Linked DNA regions of Homo sapiens: all the other regions are linked to region 1. Evidence: promoter capture Hi-C in 16 types of primary human blood cells and fetal thymus (Javierre and others, 2016). All regions are on one chromosome and are shown on one strand. Each heading gives the region's core, a stretch centred on a gene start or on the middle of the fragment in contact. The rest is flanking DNA. Distances are from core to core; before and after follow the strand shown. Region 1 holds the start of GDF7 (growth differentiation factor 7). Region 2 has its middle 3.8 kb from the start of MIR4757. Region 3 has its middle 4.4 kb from the start of OSR1.

The links. Contacts are between HindIII fragments. The CHiCAGO score rates a contact against its expected background, and 5 or more counts as called.
Region 2: a fragment that was not itself captured here is called in contact with the fragment with the promoter of GDF7 in region 1 in 1 of 17 cell types (naive B cells); the score reaches 5.3 in naive B cells.
Region 3: a contact is called between a fragment that was not itself captured here and the fragment with the promoter of GDF7 in region 1, in 1 of 17 cell types (total B cells). The highest score is 5.3, in total B cells.

The regions. Positions count from the first base shown.
Region 1 is chr2:20,665,224-20,669,520 of GRCh38, reverse strand. GDF7 (growth differentiation factor 7) reads right to left here and starts at 2,377. Exons shown (of 2, transcript NM_182828.4): 1 at 1,891-2,377. The coding sequence starts at 2,281. RefSeq lists enhancers at 1,698-1,817, 2,804-3,634 and silencers at 2,298-2,447, 2,488-2,537, 2,608-2,717. The HindIII fragment of the contact is 16,143 bases long and covers 1-4,297 here.
Region 2 is chr2:19,342,479-19,346,775 of GRCh38, reverse strand. It overlaps a transcript of OSR1 not described here. Among named protein-coding and RNA genes, the nearest start is that of MIR4757, 3.8 kb to the left of the region's middle. The HindIII fragment of the contact is 436 bases long and covers 1,894-2,329 here.
Region 3 is chr2:19,360,847-19,365,143 of GRCh38, reverse strand. No RefSeq gene overlaps it. Among named protein-coding and RNA genes, the nearest start is that of OSR1, 4.4 kb to the right of the region's middle. RefSeq lists an enhancer at 1,039-1,840. The HindIII fragment of the contact is 5,959 bases long and covers 1-4,297 here.

The DNA.
Region 1 (4,297 bases), core at 1,128-3,627:
CTTCCCTCTGTAGTGACTTATCTCGGGCTTAGGGGTTTTATTTCCAGTGTGGACACTCTTTTTTCTTTTTCCTTTTTGGGCTCAGAAAAAAAAAAAGTTTAAAATTCCACCACGCAGCAGATAAGGAGCTCCCTTTGAAGGGGGTCATATGGTTTCGTTTTGCCCCTAAACTCGGAGAGACTATGCAGAATCCCCCCACCACTGGGGATTTGCTCACCAGCCACGAAGGTCAGGCCCTCATGCCTGAGGTCCCGGTTCTATCCCTATCAATGGCTTCTGGGGACCTCAAGCAGCCCTGTTCCAAGTTGAGACTCAGGGTGGAGAGGGAGGCCGGAGAGGCACACTGGGGCTGCACGAGGAGCACTTTCTCTGAGATTCCCTGCAGATCCTCTGCCTCTCCCTGCTCACCAGCCCTGCCACTCTGTTTCCCCCAAGAGGGAGGAGGGAGAGGAGGCCTCTCAGGCTCAGCCAGCCAAGCTGAGCTCCCCAGAAAGGATTTATCTCCTGTCTGAGACCATGGTAGAACTAGCTCAACCTTAAGAAGACTCTGGTGCCTGTGCCCACTTAGAGCCCAGCACACCCCCCTTCTCCTGCAGCCTGGGACCCTTCAGTCCCTGTCCCTGTGCACCAGAACTAGGGCGTCCTATAAGTATCCCAGCATCCAGCCCAGGGGCCATGTCAGGCCGTCAGAGAAGGCTTGATAGTTCTAACCGAACCACAGGGCCATTTGGGGATTGGGTACCAAGATTTCCAGGTACCAAAAATAAGGCAGTCTGTGCTAGGCACTGGGCATGTGCTGGCAGGGATGGATGACCTGGTCACTTGCAAGGCCTCTGCCTGCCTTCCCAGGCTAGGACCTGAGGTATGCTGACTGTCAGTGGCTCCCAAGCAGGGCTGCCTCAGCCCCACCCGCTCACTTCCCAGCCCTATTCGCCTTTCTTTCCCTCCTGCCCTCCATGCTGGGTCTCTGGCTGGATAGAATTAAGGCCGAAATTACTTGCATTTCCGCCTGAAATTAGGTAAATTTTCTCTATCTGTCTGCTTTAATGATTTCAATGGAGATTAATAAAATCCAGATGACATACAGCAGCCACACCACAGCCTCACCTACATCTTACCTTTGGAAGGCCCAGGGCAGAACAAGGTGGGGTGCTTAGTCTAAGAGAGGCCTGCATTCCTGCAGGGTCCCCAGCAGGCCTCTCCTCCCCACACCACCAGGATCCTTGACCTCTGGCTCTCCCAGGGGCCCAGCACCAGACACAGGCACCCATAGCTGCACATGTCACACACACACAAACCACCACCACCCAGACCAACCTGCTGAGCAGGGCACTCCTCATACCTGGTTATGCCACCAGCCTCTCCAGGGCCATTTACTTTAGTCTGATACCTGCCTCTGCCCTAGTTTTCCCTGGGCTTCCCCCAATTTGTGTGGCCCGCAGGAGACTGGGAGCTGCAGAAATTGCTGCAAGGAAGGAGCCATCACCCTCACCACCGTGCAGTCCCTCTCGCCGTGACTCCCGGGAACACAGCTCTTGCCCTCCTTTCTTCTCTGAGGGCTCCGAGGCCACTCCAGACCATTCCCCAAGAAGCGAATCTTGGCCTCCGCCTGCCTCCTCGAGGGGACCAGCCGGCCTGCAAGGCCAGGGAGACCTGGGAGAGGGACCAGTCAGCCCTCTGGGACTGGGCCCCGGGAGCTGCCGCGACTCTCGCCACAGTCCAGGTGCAGCGGGCTGGAGAGTGTTGGCCTCGGCGAAGTTTCTTTCTATCACCTGAGGGTGGGCCGCATGGGGCCGCGGCTCCAAATGTAACGGAGCTGCGGCACGGCTCCGGGGCTGGTCTCAGCCCAGGACCTGACGGGATGGGCGGGCACAGAAGAGGCGTAAGTACCTTGGGTCGCCTGGTCTGTGAAGCCGGTGATCGTGTCCGCGCGACCATGGCCCGAGGCGGAGACAGCGGCTGCCCCGGCCGGAGCCCTCCCGGCCAGGCTCCGGTAAAGCGACATCATGAAGTGGTGCGGCACCACCGAGCCGTTCCTGAAGCCGGAGCCCGCGGCGCGGCGCGCGGCGCGGGCCCGGGGAACCGCGGCGGCCGGGACAGCCGCGGCGCCCGCAGCCTGGGCAAGAGTCCGCCCGCCGCCGCCGCCGCCGCCGCCGCCCCCTGGGCTCCGGACCGGCCCAGCCCCCGCCGCTCGCAGCACGGCGGCCGCTTCCAGCCCGTCGCGGGGGCGGCAGGCGCTCAGCAGCCAAAGGCACAGCGCGGCGGCGGCGCTCAGGTCCATGGGCTCCGTGGGCCGGGCGGGCGGGCGGCGCGGGCTCCGTGGCTCCGGGAAGTCCCCCGGCGCCTTTTGAACATAGTGTTTAATAATGGGGGAAGTGTGCGCGGCCAGCCCGCGGCCCCCCCTCCTGGCCCACCCCACCCCCGCCCAACGCCCGGAGCAGCGCCCCCTGCTGAAAGCTCCGGCGGCCGCTATGCGCCCCCCACCCCGGCCTAGAGTGGAGACCAGGGCCGGAGCCGCCTCCTCCCACCGCAGCGCTACGCCCCCACCCTCGCCAAGCGACTGCCACTGGCCCCAGCCTCCCGACACGCCTCCCCGCGGCAGTGCGACACCCCCTCCATCCGCCCAAGACCAACGCGCCCTCCGTGGTTCCAGGCTCGGGGCACCGCGCGCACCCGCCCAGCTTCCTCCCCACTCCCCCGCAGAGAAACACCCGCCCCCTCCCTGCCCTGGTTCCCAATGCCGGGAACGGGGCGGCAGAGTTGGGGCCGCGGAAGGGCTCGCCCTCCAGACCGCTTCGCGCCGCGGCCGGGTGGCCGCGCAGAGAGAGGCCACAGGATGCTCCCGGCGGCCTCAAAGTCGCGTTCCGGATCGCGGGTCGGCGGTTCCCCACTCAGCCACAGACCCCAAAGGATTGCAGCGGGCGGCCAGAGCAGGGGAGGGGGCCGGTAGGGGAGGAAGGGAGGGCGAGGAGCTGAAAGGGCAGGCCTGTAAGAGACCTTTGGACGCGGACCGCCCGTCGTAAAAGCAAGGTTTGGGCGCGGAAGTTGCGCTTCAGCGGGAGCCAAGCTCTAGAAAGAGCTCGAAATGAGGACGGCAGCCCCGGGTGATGGGGGATCTCGCGCGGGAGTGCGCTAAGAGTTTGGCTGTGCGTCCAACTGGCGACCTTCCACCCGCCTTCTGGGCGAGGGCAGCGGCTAACGAAAACCAGCTACCGGCTGTGTGCGTGAGCGGCCAGGAGCCGGGAGAGCGGACGGCGCAGAGCCCCGGGATGGCGCCTCCGAGCTTCTTACCCCGCCGCGGTGATGGCGCGGGTCCCGAGGTGGATGGAGGGGACGCCCGGCAGCGGCGAAGCCCTGGGGCGCACTCGCGCGGGCCGCAGAGCAGTTTGCTCCGCGGCTGGGACAGGTTGCGGAGGCCAAGTCTCAGGGGAACGCGCAGGAGAGGGGGGTTATCGGCTCTGCTCCGCCGGCAGCCTGGACATCCCCCTAGATCGGAAACTTTCAGCTGATCGAAGGCCTGGGCCAAACGAACTGCCGAAGAAGGGCAGGCGGGTCCTTTTCCTTTAAAATTGCATTTTCTGCAGAACTCAAAATCTAGACTGGGTCGGCACGTCGTGATCACCTTGAGCGGGTGATCAGCTTCAAAGCGAGGTCGCCCGCCGAATCCAAAGCCGCCTAGGTCCCGACGCCTGCCTGGCTGCGCTGCGCTGGGACCCACAGAGAGGCCCGGCCCAGGCTCCCCAGTTCCCCTGCTCCACTGCTTCGTCCCAAACGAACTCCTCAGCCATTGCCCTCTCGGCCACCGCGGAGACGCGGCGCCTGCTCACCTTGGGGCATTGAGCCGCATAACACTCGAGAATGTTTGCGGGTGGGAGAGAGAGGCCTAGTGAGGTTCAGTCCTCGCAGACCCCAAGGCCGATCTATGCCAAGGAGAAAGGCCTGACATTACCGGGAAGGGCGGACCCCTGGACCAGGGTCAGCGCTGCCGGCGCTGAGGGACTTCTCCTAGCAGGAGCCTGGGGAATCTGGGATGATCGAGCTGGGATAGTCCACCCTGCTTCTAGGACTGGGATTGGAGAGTCGGTGACAAACACCGCCGCCCCCACTCCGCCAGCCCCCCGGTCTCTCCCTGACGCGGATGCTGGGTCCTACTGTGTTACTTGGCTTCCTTTCCCCCTGCAGCCATGCGCCCGCAGTGTTTGGGTGTTTTACAAATCAACTCGGCTAAGATTTGTGCAAACACGCGGGGAGTCCTGGGTGACAGCAAGTCGCTTGCCTTGTCTTGGCTTCAGTTTAC
Region 2 (4,297 bases), core at 862-3,361, 1.3 Mb after region 1:
GATTGATTGAAACAAGTTCTCCCTCAGTTGCCTAGGCTGGATTGCAGCGGTGCGATCAGGACTCATTGCATCCTCAACCTCCCCGACTCAAGCAGTCCTCCCACCTCAGCCTCCTGAGTAGCAAGGCTACAGGTGTGTGCCACCACGTCTGGTAATTTTTTCTACTTTTTTTGTGTAGAGACGAGCTCTTGCTATGTTGCTTAGACTGGTCTTGAACTCCTGGTCTCAAGTGATCCTCCCACCTTGGCCTCCCAAAGTGCTGGGATTACAGGCGTGAGGCACCATGCCTGACCCATTTGTTTTCTTTGACTTGTGTTAGAGCATCCTAGTCTAAAGAAAAAGTGGCCACACAATGTTCTTTATGTGGACTTCTGCAGGAATGGTCCTCTCACCCAGTCACCCAGTCCTGGCAATTTGCTGCCATTTTTTTTGGTCATTTTTCCTGGCTAAGTCTAGTTCCAGCTCCAGAGATTAGAATATGAAAGGATTAACCCCCCAAAATGGGATGGAGGGATGAATGAGTTGAAAGTTTTTGTTTCCCTTTTCCAAACACTGAGTTGGCTCTCATCAGCACAGCTGTCTCTGGGGATGTATAAAGCGTAATTAATACATTTTAAATGTTTGGTTTCAACTTTTTTTGCTAGTGAGATAAGATAAGGAGTTTTTGTCATGACAAGGGAAGGGGTGGATTTCTTTCTATCATTTGCAGGAGTGGGTACCACTTGGATCCTGTAGGTAGACAGTTGCATGAGATGATAAACTTTATAGGGGGCATGGAAGAAAGCCAGTGGAGATGGGGAAGGAATGGCTAGACTCTTTAGCTTCCTGACAACCAGAGGGGGAAAATGAACTTCCAGAGAATTTGGGTTTTGCCTTAAATATTGAAATTTGCTTGGGCATTTGGTCCACTTCTTAATTAACCTGGGTCCAGAACTGAATGTCTTTGCAGTCGGAGCTCAGAATTGCTTTGGTATCTCACAGTACACATAGCATTTCCCTGTTGGTGTACGGTAGGCCAAGGACCAGAGCATGTGTTGTGCTGTAGCCAAAAGGAATAGTCTCCATGACCTTATCGTTGGAGAGATCATTGGACACTGAAATAGTTGAGCATGGACACTCTAAGATGGGTGGAAATACTAGAAGAGTTATTATTAGCAGAGGGATCTATGTATCCATAAGATCCATATTTTTAATTATAATGTTCATATCTTCTATATTCTTTTTAATAAATGGTGCTGGGAAAACTGGCTAGCCATATGTAGAAAGCTGAAACTGGATCCCTTCCTTACACCTTATACAAAAATTAATTCAAGATGGATTAAAGACTTAAACGTTAGACCTAAAACCATAAAAACCCTAGAAGAAAACCTAGGCATTACCATTCAGGACATAGGCATGGGCAAGGACTTCATGTCTAAAACACCAAAAGCAATGGCAACAAAAGCCAAAATTGACAAATGGAATCTAATTAAACTAAAGAGCTTCTGCACAGCAAAAGAAACTACCATCAGAGTGAACAGGCAACCTACAAAATGGGAGAAAATTTTCGCAACCTACTCATCTGACAAAGGACTAATATCCAGAATCTTTAATGTCTTGATTTCTTTACCTGTTAATTCCTAACTGACACTTTAGTGTGTATTAAAAACTCCCGCCGTGATGGTGGAACTGTCATTTTCTTATTGTAGTTCCATCAAAGATATATAAATTATATATACATATATACAAAAATTATATATATGTACACACATATACATGTATGACTGTTTAAGCTATTTACATTTATTGTGATGTCTATATTGCTGTTATCTTCTACCATCTCACTTTATGTTTCTAGTTGTCCAACTGTTTTAATGCCCCTTTTCTGACTTCCTCTGAATAAAATGATAAGCTTTCGCTTAATTTCTTTAGTGCTTACTCTTGAATGTTTAATATGTTTACTTAGCTTAAAGTCTCAATCAGTAACATCACTTACCTTTTTAATAATATAATAAATACAGCAACTTCGGTCACACCTGACCAAGATCCCAGTTTATATGTCCCACAAAATTCATTAGGCTCTTTACCCTCACCACCCTTCTCACCACTCCTGGGCCTTGGCTGCTCACCTGAGGCATTGCTTCCTTTGGATTTTCGGTGGCTGCATGGAAGACCAGCTTATCCTTGAGTTCACCCTGACCATGGTTACATTTGTCTCTCCATGACAGTCAGTAGTGCTCTTGGGAATTCAGCGTGGCAGTTGGGACAATGGCAGGGGCTGGGGCTTTACCTCTGTGGGAAAAGTATGAAACATTGCTAGGGCTTTTCCAGCCAGAAAGCTGGGCAAGCTTTTGCCCCTAGCAAAGGATAAGTTTTATTTTAATTGTCATAAGTGTGTATTTAACTGGGCCAAGGAGGATTGGAAGTGCTGGGGAAAGCATTCAGTTGTAATACATTCCTTCAGCTTTACCCCCAAATGTTTTAATTTGAAAATTTCCAAGCATATAGAAAAATTGAAATAATTTTATAGTGAGCATCCATAGAATGGATTTCTTTGAGTTTATCCTCCTTGGGGTTTTCTCAGATTCTTAGTCTGTAGGTTTATGCCTTTTTTCATATTTGAAAATGTTTCAGCCAATTACCACCTAGATTTCACAATTGGTCTTTTACTATACTTGCTTTCTCACAGTCATCCATCAATCTATCCTTCCAACATTTTTAAAAATGAAAATTTGCAAACATACAGAATAATAGAAAGAATAGTACAAAACACACCCTCAGATTATCCTCATAGAGTCAACAATTGACAATGTTTTATTCTATTTGTTTCCCTCTCTGTCTTTCTCTCTGAATCATTTGAAAGTCAGTTCCACACTTCATTATATTTCATCCCTAAATATTTCAGCACATATCTCTTAGAAATAGACATTATCCTACATAACCACATTATTATGACACTAAAGAAAGTTAACAATTTTATATCATTTCATGATCAAATGTTCCATCTATATTTGTTTCTCCAAATTTTCCAACCTCTTGTATTTTTAAAAATCAGAAACCAATAAAACTTCTTACATTGCATTAGTCTTTAGTGTCTTTTAATCTAGAACAGTCACCTGTTTTAAAAATGTTTTTTATTTTGAAATAATTATAGATTTACAGAAAATTACAGAGTGGTTCCATACACACTTCACTCCATTTCTCTCAGTGGTTAGTTACATCTTGCATAATGATAGTACAATATCATACCAGAAAATTGATATTGATACAATGAGTGTGTGTAGTGTTATGCTATTTTATCACATGTTTAGATTCCTGTAACCACCACTACAATCAAGATATGGAACTATTTCACTAGTTAAAACATTTTAACAGTTTGAGAAAAGTGTAAAAACCTGACCTCCCTTTAAGCTCCTTTATCCTCCCTGTTTATGGCACATTGGCCTTAAATATTTCTTCTACATACATTGAGATCCACATTACACAATGCTAAGTTTTTGCTTTGACCATCAAAGTAATTTAGAGAAATCAAGAGGAAAGGTAAAGTTTATTGAATTTCACCATGTTTTTGCTTTTTCCATTGTTCTTTTTTTCTTCTTGATGTTCCAAGTTTCCTTCTTTTATTATTTCCTGTTTTGAGAACTTATCTTCTTTAGCCATTCTTTTAGGGTAGGTATGCTGGTGACAAATCCTTTTAGTTTTCCTTCTTCTGAGTATGTCTTTTTGCTCCTTCATTCTTGAAGGTTAATTTCACCAAGAATTCTAGGTTGACACTTACTTTCTTTCAGCATTTGAAAAATGTTATTACTTCCTTCTGGCTTCCATGGTTGCTAATCAGAAATCCACTGTCATATGAATTGTTTTTCTCCTATACGTAAGGCGTCATTTTTCCAATGCTACCCTCCTCTCCTCTCCCCTCCCCTCCCTCCCTTCCCCTCTTTTTTTGAGATGGAGTTTGGCTTTTGTCACCCAGGCTGGAGTGCAATGGTGTGACCTCGGCTCACTGCAACCTCTGCCTCCCAGGTTCAAGCGATTCTCCTGCCTCAGCCTCCCAAGTAGCTGAGATTACAGGCACCAGCCACCATACCCAGCTAATTTTTGGATTTTTAGTAGAAACGTGTTTTCACCATGTTGGCCAGGCTTGTCTCGAACTCCTGACTACAGTTGACACCTGCCTCAGCCTCCCAAAGTGCTGGGATTAGAGGCATGAGCCACCACGCCTGACTTCCAGTGCTGCTTTCAGATTACTTTCTTTGTCTTTAGTTCTTCAATTTTCAGAAGTTTGAGTATGATGGTTCTTGGTATAGATTTCTCTCAG
Region 3 (4,297 bases), core at 537-3,036, 1.3 Mb after region 1:
AATGAAGTCATGATTCCAGAAACTCTCTATCTGGAATAGATAGATTATAATACTTTAGTTTTAAGTTTTCTCTCCATTTCTTTATTGTTGACATGTGATATGAAAACCAATACTTAAATATACTAAACCCGACCATTGGTCATTTTGAAGTGAAAATCATATGCTAATATATATTTTCTTTTTTGTTTTGTATCTACTTCAAGTGTTTCAGCAAATGCTTTTCTTTTCCATGGAAAGGTTCTCATGTAGGGAATTGGAGATATGACCAGCAAATTCATTTGCCTGGAGTCACCTAGGAAGAGAGTTATGGTGGGAACTGGCATTTCAAGTGTCCCCCCACTTCCAGCCTAGACCATGGAGGAAGAATATCTGTCTTTTGAGGGTGGCTAAAATAAGGGATTGTGGTTTTCCGCTGTGTGCAGAATCCCCACTACATTGTGATGTAACTCAGATGCACAAATATGACTCTATGACTCCTCCTCCTGAGTCTAACTTCCTAGAAATCAGAGAAGGAAAGATTTATTTGTATTTATTTATTTTTGCTGATGGGGTGGTCCCCTCCCAGTTCACTGTATTCCCTTTGTGGAACATTCTCAATTCCAATCTGTCATCCTTCCATCCCTCTCATCTCCCCAAAACTGATGCTTAAGTTTAAGTTGCACTTGGTAGAGGAACACCAGGTATTAAAGCCACATCCAGTAGGATGCCTTTCAAGTTCCCAGGAGCAATAGCATCCCTTCTAGTTGGGCCACCGCCTTGGGGGCTCAGCACCTCTTCAGGGTGACAGTCTGAAGCCAGGAAGCACCCCTGGTATAAACACTAAAGAGGCAGAAGCACCTGGCCTCCTTCTATTCAGTAGGTAATTCTACTCATCCATTAGGTGAGGCACAGCGCGGCTTTGCATCACTTAGGGAGGGTTGGTGAATGTAGTAATTCTTTGGAATGTCCAAGTTGGGTCCACTCCCTTTCCACCCCTCACTGCAAGCTCAGGATAGGGAAGTGGGAGGCCCTGCCTCAGAGGAGCAAAGTGAGTGATGGGCAGCAGGAGGACACAGCCTTCCTCTAAGAGCTTGGAGCAGGTAGGGAATCTGTCTTTCTCTCTGCCCTTTTCTTGCTTGTTTTCTCTGGGTATTTTGCTCCAATGAGTGGACCTGACACTTTAGGAACTCATTCTATGCAATGTGGCATAGTCCTCTGTAGACAGAGAATTAACCAAAGAGCTTGTTAATAGGTATATTCTTAGGATTTCTCTCTTCAGGTCTCTATCTGAATACCTAGAGCTATGATGACAAGGGAGGGTCCTGCTAGAATATTCTGTACGGAAATCCGAAAAAAAAAAAAAGGAAGCAGCAGAGGAACTGGAATCTAATGGTCTGGGAGGAAGGAGAGGATAGGAAACCTCACGTGTTTCAGGGAAATCGATTCACGGAAACAGACTCTCTCTCTTCTTCCCGCGCTTCTTCAGAAAGCCAGGATTTGGGATCCGAAGCAGGACGTGCAGACCTACGAGGGGCTGCGGACGGAGGCACCGGAGGGCACTTCTCACCTCCGGGTGTGCCGGGAGGGGCACGCGGACCGAGCTTGCAAATGCAGGATGGGGTCCCAGTAGATCTTTGCTCATCGTCTTCCCAGGACCAGAAGCGAACGGCGGCAGATAGTTGCTAGGAATTTCGGATTATTTAAAAACAAACAAACAAACAAACAAAAGCCCTCATCCATCTGAGAGCAAGGACGTCTGGTTTGGGGCAGGGAAACAGAAACCCCGTGGCGAGAAGAAATTCCTCCTCCGTTTGCTCTTTGGAAGGGTAAGCGTGTGCGTACTTTTAAATGAGTAGCAGCAAACTTCTAACTGAGAAAAGAAAAACTGAAGGACTAAAATACTCTTGGGCAAAGTGAAATAAGGATACTGTGGGTTTGCGAGTTTTCCAAGAAGGGGTCCCGAGATGTGGCTTGCTCGCCAGCAGGGGGCACGTTTTCTTTAGGATTGCGTCCCAGAATCTCGAAACCTCGCAGCCGGACTCTCTCCGAGTCCCATCGCCGGAAATCGCTCTGCAGATAATAACCCTCCGGTGTCTGGAAATGTTTAATTACCGCGAACTCTCCTTCCTCCAGCGCCACCCGCCGCCGGTGCAGCCCGGAAGGACCCAGCGCCGCGGGTGCAGTAGGTGGCTCTATCTGCAGGATTCCACCCTAACTATTCACAATTCCGTTCAAACTACTGTTCTCCAACATCCCCGGCTGATTAGACATTGCCTTGTTTCTAATGCACTTATTTACACCTTGGAAAAAGGAAAAGTTCATTAACCTTAGTACATAGATCTGGATGTGTCTAAAATAGTCTGACAACTCAAATTTGTGTAAAAAGTAAAAACCCATGCCGTCTTTTACATACATTTTACATTTGATCTTCACAACAGAAGACATCATCATTCCATTTTCCCGATGATCGTATGCCCATGCAATTCCATGCTAGTATTTATGCTTCATGTCACACATATTTTTACAAACCAAAGGTATATGTGTGTGTGTGTGTGTGTGTGTATGTATTGTTACATTTATTAAGGTGAAAGAGTTACATTTGTGTGCCCGTAAAGAACTTACCAAACGGGAACTGCCTGGAAAAACAGTTCACTTTCCCTTTCAGTTTTGATACTGTAACTTGTCTGTCGCTGTCACAACAAAAAACACCCGCTCTTGCGTTCACCTGGCATCTGTTCTCTTAAGGACCCTGGATTGCATTACGTTATCAGAGGTGTTATCTGAACAAATGTGCGCAGGAGTCCTGTTACCTACCTCCCGTGCTTAAAAATCCTTCCCACCCCCAAGCTGGATTTTGACCTGATTGACCGTAATGGTTCCAGAGGAACTATTGAGCCATTACTATCCATCATCTAAATGAATACAGAGGGACGCCTAAATCTCCAGGTTATTTGAAAGCCCTGTACATGCGTAAGGGGGTTTCTAACGAGCAGACCCCCAATTGTCTGCAAAGTAGTTACAGGAAGTAGTTGCGTTGGAAGCAAAAATTCGCAAGTGCTGAGCAAACTTCATTTGAAAAAATGAGGACTTTTTTTTTTTTTTTTAGGCTATGGGGTGCGGAGAGGTGGGGTTCATTTTTTTTTGAATCCAAAACAACTCAAAGCAATATAGACCACATTCTAGTTAATTTTCTGGAAGCTGCTCAATTTTCACTCCGAAGACAGGCTGGGGCGCTTTACCAAGGAGCAGGAATCGGGAGAGGGGCTGGGGTTTGGCGTGGAGACATGAGCAGCGGGCCGTCACCACCGCAGGCGTGCCCAGGAAAAGGCGGCAGCAGGGCTTGCTGCGGGACTGGGTTCAGTGCGGTCCACAGCCCGGAAGCCCGGGCAGACGGAGGGATCGCTCCCTTGACGGACCTCACATCGACTGGCGGGTTGTGGAGCGGAGCGCCGGACGGAGAGCTGGAGGCCTGGTCTCTACTGAGGGGACCCTTCTTCTAGGCTGCCCGGTCCCAGCCGAGTCTGGGACCACTCCGGCGCCCGCGGTTCCGCCCCGAAGGCAGTGAGCGAGAGAGCCAGAAAGAGTCGCGGCGGAGTTCGCGCCGGCTGGAGTCCGCAGGCTCCGAGCTAGCAGAAGCTGCAGCCGCGGTGGCGGAGTGCGCTGGACTCCCAGTAATGAGATGGGAGTTTTGTCACCTTCATTGGGTTTCCAGGAGGGCAGAACTGTTGGGTCCTAGCTACCGAGGACTTTTACCAAATTCGAAACGTGACGTCCTCGCGAGTCCTAAACACATGTAACCTCGCTTAAAAAGTACCCTTGTTGCTCTTAGGTGTCCTGCGTCCTTCCCTTGTCAATCCATCCAAGCGGTAGTCCGGGCACTGCGCAGCGACGCAGGGCCCGCTTAACGTGATCAATTTCTCTTAAACAGGCGGGGGATGGGATACCGCAGCACCGAACGGCCGGAGGGATTCTTAGCTTCCTGGGCTTCTTCCTGCCTGCCCCGCCCAGAAGGAACCCAGACTTTGGTTGGCCTCCTGTGGAGGTCAAGGCTAGGGTTTGGGGGTCACCCCCTTGGGAGCTCAGAGCGGGATGGAGGACTTTTCAGCTCCTAGCAATTCTTGAATTTCGTTATCCTGGCTTTCTGAGGCTGTGCATTGTCAGCGACCTAGGAGACGCCTCTCTGAAGCCAGGCTTCTGAAACAGGTGAGCCCTTGTGGAGAGCCATCGTCACTAGCACTCAGGTGCACTCTGGCCTTGTCCTGTTGTGGCCTTGCTGACCAGCTCCAGGCAGAGGTGGTCATGATTTCTCTGGGAGGCA